2 separate regions of the Homo sapiens genome follow, and region 1 is linked to region 2. The links are contacts of gene promoters, found by promoter capture Hi-C in human tissues and cell types (Jung and others, 2019). All regions are on one chromosome and are shown on one strand. Each heading gives the region's core, a stretch centred on a gene start or on the middle of the fragment in contact. The rest is flanking DNA. Distances are from core to core; before and after follow the strand shown.

Region 1 (3,872 bases), core at 367-2,866, 1.1 Mb before region 2:
TCATTAAAATACCAAAATGGGATTTAATAAAATGTCTCTATTTAGGAAGTGATACACTCAATTACCGTAAAATTCAGAGTGGGACCAAAAGAGGCCTTTCAGAAAATCCATTTATGGTCCAAAAGTTTTGAACTGCAAGTTTCAGGAACTTAGAGATGTTCTGAAAGAGTAGCTATATTTTATATCACATGACCCATGCTGCCAGACACCACCCACCCAACCCTGCATCCTTTCAAGGTTTTCTTCTACCTGCTCTTCTCAAAGTCTAGTGATTCTTGGTCATTAATCTGTAATGGCTGGCTGGCTGCTAGGTTACTCCTTCTCTCTCTTCCTTCTTTGGAGACAAGACTCCAAATCACCCGGAGTAGGCAGATGGGGAAAGAAGTAATCACAGGACCCCATTCTGGAGGTCACAGCAGCAGATCTAGATTTGGCCACAAGACCTAAGCCAGTTACTTTCTGGCATTTCTCTAACTAGAACAGGCAGGCAAGACTCCTAGTTCTCTTTGGCCATGATCCTAGGAAAACATAAGCCTGCAACTGCCACCAGCCACAGAACTAGCCTCTAGGAAACACAGGAGGAGAAAATAACACCAAAATCCAGAAAGAAACAGAGAAAGACAGGACCTGGGCCAGGGTGGATTAAGCCCCTGACTATACACCAGCACTCTCCTATTAAATAGGGATAGTTTTTAAATTAAGATAGTTTGATCTTCTCCTGTATCAATTATTTCTTAACTGGGTCATTCCATATATATATAATATATATTCATATATATAGATTTATATTTTCATATATATGAAAATATATATATGATTTAAATATATATGTATATATGTGTATATATGTATATATGATTAAAATCTCCTATCATTTAAAAAAAATTATTCACAACATTATCTCCCTTCATGTATCAGAGTCCCATTTCTTGGCTCTTCCTTTTTAAAGTCAACAATATTTATTGTCCTTACTTCCTGTTTAATCCATTCCAATCAAAGACTTTTACTTCTACTCCTACAGTGAATCTGTCTCTGTTAAGATCAATAACCTTAACTTCGACTTTGCCAATCCAATTGTCAAGTCTGTGTTGTCATCTTATTCAGATTTCTGGAACATGTGACATTGCTTTTTCTTAAAATGCTTTCTTCACTAAGCGTCTAGGTCCCCACATTCTCCTGGCTCTCCTCCTATCTCACCGGCCATTTCTTCCCCACCTTCTCTCCAGGGTCCTCCTCTACTTCTTGACCTCACAGCACTCAGTCCTTCCCTCTTTGCGCCATGATCTCAACCAGTATTTTTCAATGTTTTCCCCCATTATTAACAACCTCCCCCATGAGACTTCAGATTTCTGGGTTTTTTCCTAATTACTCCTATTCCCAAGAAATTTCAATGCCACATAAAACCTAAGAATGAACTTTTATTCCTGTCCCTGTCCCCCACTAGTAACCTGAATTCAATTCCACAGCAAATCCTGCCAGCTATTTCCTCAAAATATATCATGAAATCAGACTTTCCAGCCATTTCCTTCTCACCAGATTACCATCACCTCTCACCAGTTCACGCGAAGCCTCAACAGGTCTTCTACTTCTACTCCTGACCCCTTCTCCTCAAGAGTCTAATATTCACACAGTAATTACAATAATCATTTTGAAAGATAAGTCACATCACTACTTTGCTCAAAACTCCTAAATGGAGTTATACTTGCAATATACTTACATTATCCATATAGTAAATCTCAAATTCCTTATTGGCCCTACCAGGTCCTATGAGATCTGTCCCTGTCTGTCTCCCTGATCAATTTGTCTCCCACCACTCTTCCCATTCCTTACTACTTTCTAGCTACTTGAGCCTTCCAACAGTTTCCTAAACACTTTAAGGTTGTGTCAGCCGTAAGCCTTGGTGTGGCTGGTCCCTAAACCTGGAATATACTTCACCCAGATTGTCCCCTGACTCACCCTCTAGCGCCACTCTGATCTATAACCAAAAACCTCTTCTTGGGGGACTTCTTCCTTGACCACATTATCTAACTAGCCCTTGTTCCATCTGCTCACTAACTATACTGTTACCCTGCTTTATTTTTTCACATAAATAACCTGTACCAGCAGTTGTGTGAGTGTATATGTAGCTACACACATACATACATGCAAACTTGTTCACTGTCTCTCTAAAAGAGCGTTAACTCCATCAGGGAAGAATATCTATTTTGTTCAATGCTCTATCCCCAAAGCCTAGAATAATGCCTGTCCTGTCTCACAGGAAAAATAATTTTTTTTGTTTTTTTGAGACAGAGTCCCACTCTGTCACCCAGGCTGGAGTGCAGTGTTATGATCTCGGCTCACTGCAACCTATGCATCCCAGGTTGAAACAATCCTCGTGCCTCAGCCTCTCGAGTAGCTGGAATTACAGGTGCGCACCACACCCAGCTAATTTTTGTATTTTTAGTAGGACAGGGTTTCATCATGTTGGCCAGGCTGGTCTCAAACTCCTGACCTCAAGTGATCCACCTGCCTAGACCTCCCAAACTGCTGGGATTACAGCATAAAGTTTTGATTATATATAAATAAAGAAAGCAGGTGAGTCTGATTTTTGTAACTTGCAATCAATCAAATCATTGGTGATGAAGCATCTTTACAATCAACTTCTCATTACTTGAGGTAATTTGAGTCTCCATCTCTTGCCACTAAAAAAAAAAAAAAAAAAAAGACTCCCAAGATGGCCGAATAGGAACAGCTCCGATCTGCAGCTCCCAGCGTGATCCATGCAGAAGACAGGTGATTTCTGCATTTCCAATAGGTACCTGGTTCATCTCATTGGGACTGGCTGGGCAACGTGTGCAGCCAACGGAGGGCGAGCTGAAGCAGGGCAGGGCATCGCATCACCCGAGAAGTGCAAGGGGTCGGGGGATTTCCCTTTCCTAGCCAAGGGAAGCCATGACAGACTACCTGGAAAATCGGAACACTCCCGCCCAAATACTGCGCTTTCCCCAAGGTCTTAGCAACCAGCAGACAAGGAGATTCTCTCCTGTGCCTGGTTCGGCGGTCCCACACCCACGAAGCCTTGCTCACTGCTAGCGCAGCAGTCTGAGATTGAACTGTAAGGTGGCAGCCTGGCTTGGGGAGGGGTGTGTGCCATTGCTGAGGCTTGAATAGGTAAACAAAGCAGCCTGGTAGCTGGAACTGGGCGGAGCCACCACAGCTCAACAAGGCCTACTGCCTCTAGACTCCACCTCTGTGGGCAGGGCATAGCTGAACAAAAGGCAGCAGACAACTTCTGCAGACTTAAATGTCCCTGTCTGACAGCTCTGCAGAGAGCAGTGGTTCTCCCAGCACAGCGTCTGAGCTCTGAGAATGGACAGACTGCCTCAAGTGGGTCCCTGATCCCTGTGTAGCCTAACTGGGAGACATCACCCAGTAGGGGCCAACAGACACCTCATATACGCGGCTGCTCCTGTGGGACGAAGCTTCCAGAGAAAGGATCAGGCAGCAATATTTGCTGTTCTGCAATATTTGCTGTTCTGCAGCCTCCACTGGTGATACCCAGGCAAACAGGGTCTGGAATGGAACTGCAGCAAACTCCAACAGACCTGCACCTGACTGTTAGAAAGAAAACTAACAAACAGAAAGGAATAGCATCAACATCAACAAAAAGGTCATCTACACCAAAACCCCATCTGTAGGTCACGAACATCAAAGACCAAAAGTAGATAAAACCACAAAGATGGGGAAAAACCAGAGCAGAAAAGCTGAAAATTCTAAAAACCAGAGTGCCCCTTCTCCTCCAAAGGATTGCAGCTCCTCGCCAGCAATGGAACAAAGCAGGACAGAGAATGACTGTGACAAGTTGACAGAAGTAGGCTTCAGAAGGTCGGTAA
Region 2 (3,849 bases), core at 826-3,325:
AAACAACCCCGAGGAACCATTTAGCTCCCCGAAGACCAACAGAATCTGTGTACAATGTGGGAGGAGAGAAACTCCGGAGCGTGGCCCAGGAAGACAGGTGGCAACCCTAGAAATGCTGCAATGCCTGTTGAAGCCCCTTCCCCCTGAACTGGCCGACAATTTTCCTTCCATATACATTAAAAGCATAGTCTGTATTTTGACCTGATGGAAAAGATATAGACAGGATCTGGGACAAAGCCACCAAATCTTTTGTTCCCTTGGACACTCGATAGAATAAATGTTTTCCACGTCACACAGAAGAATGTTAAGTGCTTTGTTTCTGCAGAAGTGGAACAGAGATAGTGGGAGCATCTGTCAAAACCCCCAAAATGCTTTAATGTGGTGGCAGCTGGCTGGGAGGAGCAGGAGCCCAGTTCCCTAAAAGCCAATAGTTCTGGAAATGGAGGAGGGCTGTTTGAACCAGCGCGTTAACATCACCCAGGAGCTTGTTAGAAAGGTACATTCTCAAGTCCCTCCCAGGACCAACTGAGTCAGAAATTCTAGGGCTGAAGTCCAGGAATCTGTGTTTTAACAATCCCTCCAGGTAATTCTGAAGTTTGAGAACCGGTGGAATAAGGCCAGGGAACTCACACAAGGCCACAGCTCTTAGGTGACCTAAAAAAAAGTGGACGACAGCTGAGGAGCCACCATGCCTGGTGTGGCCAGGCCTGTACTGAAGCAGCTGAGGGCGCGTCCACGCCCGTCAAACCATCCCGGGCACCCCGTCTCACCACCAGCCTCTCCCCGACGTCTGTTGTGACTTGACCTATGCTCGTGGCACAGGGAAAGGGCTGTGGCCTCTCAGGCTCCCAGGCTATTATTAGTTCCAATCCGCACAAATCTACCAGTGCTAAAGGGAAGCTTCTGCGAACTTTGGAAGGTGGATTAACTGTTTCAGAGCAGCAGCTGCGGGCCCAGATAGTTGTCGGAGCCGCTAGACACAGCCAAGCGCTTCCCTGAAAGCCAAGGCCGGCGGCGAGCTGGTGGTCCCGCCGGCCGGAGGCCCCTCCCCGCCAGGCCGCAGAACCCGGGTCGGAGAGCAGCCAGTCTCAACCTGCGTCCCCAAGGCCGAGGATGTGTCCTGGTTTTTTAAAAAGCTGTTTGCGCACTTCCAGGGCCTCACCCCTTTCATTTGGGGCTCCAGTATTACTGTATTGACCTAATTAATTCATTTTTTTCTCAGTCCAAAGTGGAAGCCGGAGCACAGGGATGCAAATCAAATACAAACCCGTCCTGGGTGCCAATACTCTGGACAATTAAAACAAAGAGCGCAGTGGTGGCGGTGGCGGCGGCACCACACAAAACCCTCGGGAAACATCCAGAACGTGCCGCGAACCAGCCGGCAGGGTGGGGCGCAGCCCGGCTGCAAACATGCCAGCAAGGAGGCAGTCCCAACCCCGCAGGTGGACAGGTGGAGGTTGGCAGGGGTCAAAATCCATCCTGAAGGCCTGGGAGCCGGGCAGCTGCGCGGCACAACTCCAGGGGGCACACTCGCCCTGCGCCCTGCGGGAATGGCGCCCCGGCCAAAAAAGCAACCAGACAAAAACCCATTGCACGGGCGGGAACTGGTCTGTGCGACCCGCAAAAGGGGTGGGTGGGAGAGGAAGAATGCGGAAGCGAGGAAGAGGATGGGAAGGGAGAAAGAGGAAAGGGAGGAAAAGGAGAAAGTGAAAAAGAGAGGGGGTTTGGGAGCGCGAGGGGAGAAGGAAGAGGGAGCCGGAGGGAGAGGAGGGGGATCGCAGAGAGCAGGAGCGCGGAAGGGGGGCGGGGGAGGAGCAGAGAGAAAGGGAAAGGGGGGTGCGCCGGGGCCCAGCGACCCGGGCGGGGGGTGGCGGCGGCCAAGGGGCGGGACCCGGGTCGGTGCCCACCTGCGTGGGCGCCCGCTGCTCCGAGGGGTGGAAGCCCGGGGGCCAGAGGGAGCGGCCGGGAGGAGGGCTGGGCAGGGAGGCAGAGGGGAGGGAGGGGACGGGGACGGGGAGGCGGGGAGGAGCCGGCGCTCGGCTGGGGCTGCGGGGGCGGCGACGGCGGGAGCGGCAGTGGCGGCGGCGGCGGGTCCGGAGGTGGCGGCAGGTGGCCCCGCGCGCGGCGGCCGGCCCGGCCGGGGGCGGGCGGGAAGGTGGCGCCTCGGGCGGGGGCCGGTCCCTGCACCAGGTGACCTGTTCCGGCCCGGATCCGGGCGGCCTCGCCATGCAGCGGCGCGGCGCGGGGCTCGGGTGGCCGCGGCAGCAGCAGCAGCAACCCCCGCCGCTCGCGGTCGGCCCCCGGGCCGCAGCCATGGTCCCGAGTGGCGGCGTCCCCCAGGGCCTCGGCGGCCGCTCTGCCTGCGCGCTGCTCCTGCTCTGCTACCTGGTGAGCGCCGGACCCTGCCCGGGTCTTCCCCTCCGCGCGGGGCCCCGGGGACGCGGGTGGGGGCGGCCGGGGACACCCGCCACGCGGGGCGGGGACGCCGCTGCTAGTTTTCTCTCTTCCTCGTCGCTGCGCCCCGGGCGTTCCCGGCACCTGGGATAGGTACCCCGGGCGTGGAGAGGGGCGCTTGGACCGGACTTGCCAAGCTGCTCTCTCGCTCGTGCTCATTCCTTTCCCTCCTGGACTCTCTCTAGACCCGGGTCGGGTTACCCTCGAGACCCCTTCTTGTCCTCGACTCCACCCGGGAGCCTCGCCGCCCGGAGTTCGCTCCCCGCCCCGCCGCGCGCAGTCTCCAGCACCCCCCAACCCCCCACCCCTCCTGGGCTTCCCTCTCAATCTTCTCGCAGCTCCTTTCCTTCCCGTGCCCAACTTCGCCTCTTACTCTCGGCGCCCGCCACCCGCGTCGACCCTCCTTTTAGTTTCCACCGGGTCCTCCCGGCCCGGACAGTTTTCTGCCAACGCACCTCGCATCTCCAGCGCTCTTCAACTCCTCCTTGGTCACTCCAGCCAAGTTGCGGATGCCGGAAAGAAATCTAGTTCTCTGTAACACGCTTACCGCCAGAGTGGTGACTTTAGCTGCGTCTTGAACATTGTCATTTCAGAGAATATGTTTGGCTCATGCATGTCAGTTTGCAATTTGCACACTTCTTGGCTTCTGTTTTAGTCATCAACTAAAGGGCAGTAACCTATTTTTCAAAACCCATTTATTTTAAATACCAGAGTAGCTGAGACCCCTCAGAACAAAGTGGGGAGAAATTTTCTCAGTTCCTTTGAGGGCTTGCTTGCTTCTGTTTTGAGTTCTCCTAAACAATAGTAAATTTACAGAAGGCGACACCCTTCCTGCCCAGAGTAACTTATGTTCCACAATCCTGCAGAAACCTTGGGTTATCTCGCCATATATTACTGTAAATAAATGAAATGGAAAATGCTGAATCATGAAACTGATGTAATAGGAAATTCACAGAATGCCAAAAAAAAAAAAAAAAAGAGCAGTGTCATTGTCCAGAATTCATTTCACTTATGTGGCATTGTCATTATTTGGAGTCTTTCTTTTTGGAAGCTAAAAACTGCTTAGGAGATACTGGCAGAAATTAGAATTTGATTCTGAAGAAATTTGCCACTCAGCCCGTTTCTTTTAACGTTTTTTACTTCTTGAATGTTTCATTTCTTGAAGCAAGAAGGTGTAAAAATGCAAATTATAATTCTGCCTGTGCATCTACCTGTTGAGCAATCCGTGCTTTTACTCATATTTCAGAATTAGCCAATATCAAATTGTGTGGTTGGGCTTACTTCATATTTTCATAAGAAGTTGTCAGTTAACATGAATGATATTTTTTTGCCCAAGAGATATTATTATTTAATATTTATGCCACAAGGTTACAACACACAGGCTCATAAATAAAA

What was found. Contacts are between HindIII fragments. The study calls those that stand out against the background at their distance.
Region 1: a fragment that was not itself captured here is called in contact with the fragment with the promoter of SEL1L3 in region 2 in 1 of the 25 tissues and cell types used here (heart left ventricle).

The regions. Positions count from the first base shown.
Region 1 is chr4:26,975,214-26,979,085 of GRCh38, reverse strand. The region is part of intron 3 of STIM2 (stromal interaction molecule 2); the gene reads right to left. Among named protein-coding and RNA genes, the nearest start is that of STIM2, 120 kb to the right of the region's middle. The HindIII fragment of the contact is 5,400 bases long and covers 1-3,872 here.
Region 2 is chr4:25,861,214-25,865,062 of GRCh38, reverse strand. SEL1L3 (SEL1L family member 3) reads left to right here and starts at 2,075. Exons shown (of 24, transcript NM_015187.5): 1 at 2,075-2,388. The coding sequence starts at 2,227. It overlaps LOC102723733 (a long non-coding RNA gene), which reads right to left. Exons shown (of 2, transcript XR_427503.5): 1 at 2,910-3,849. RefSeq lists silencers at 1,842-2,001, 2,052-2,511, 2,782-3,076. The HindIII fragment of the contact is 7,102 bases long and covers 1-3,849 here.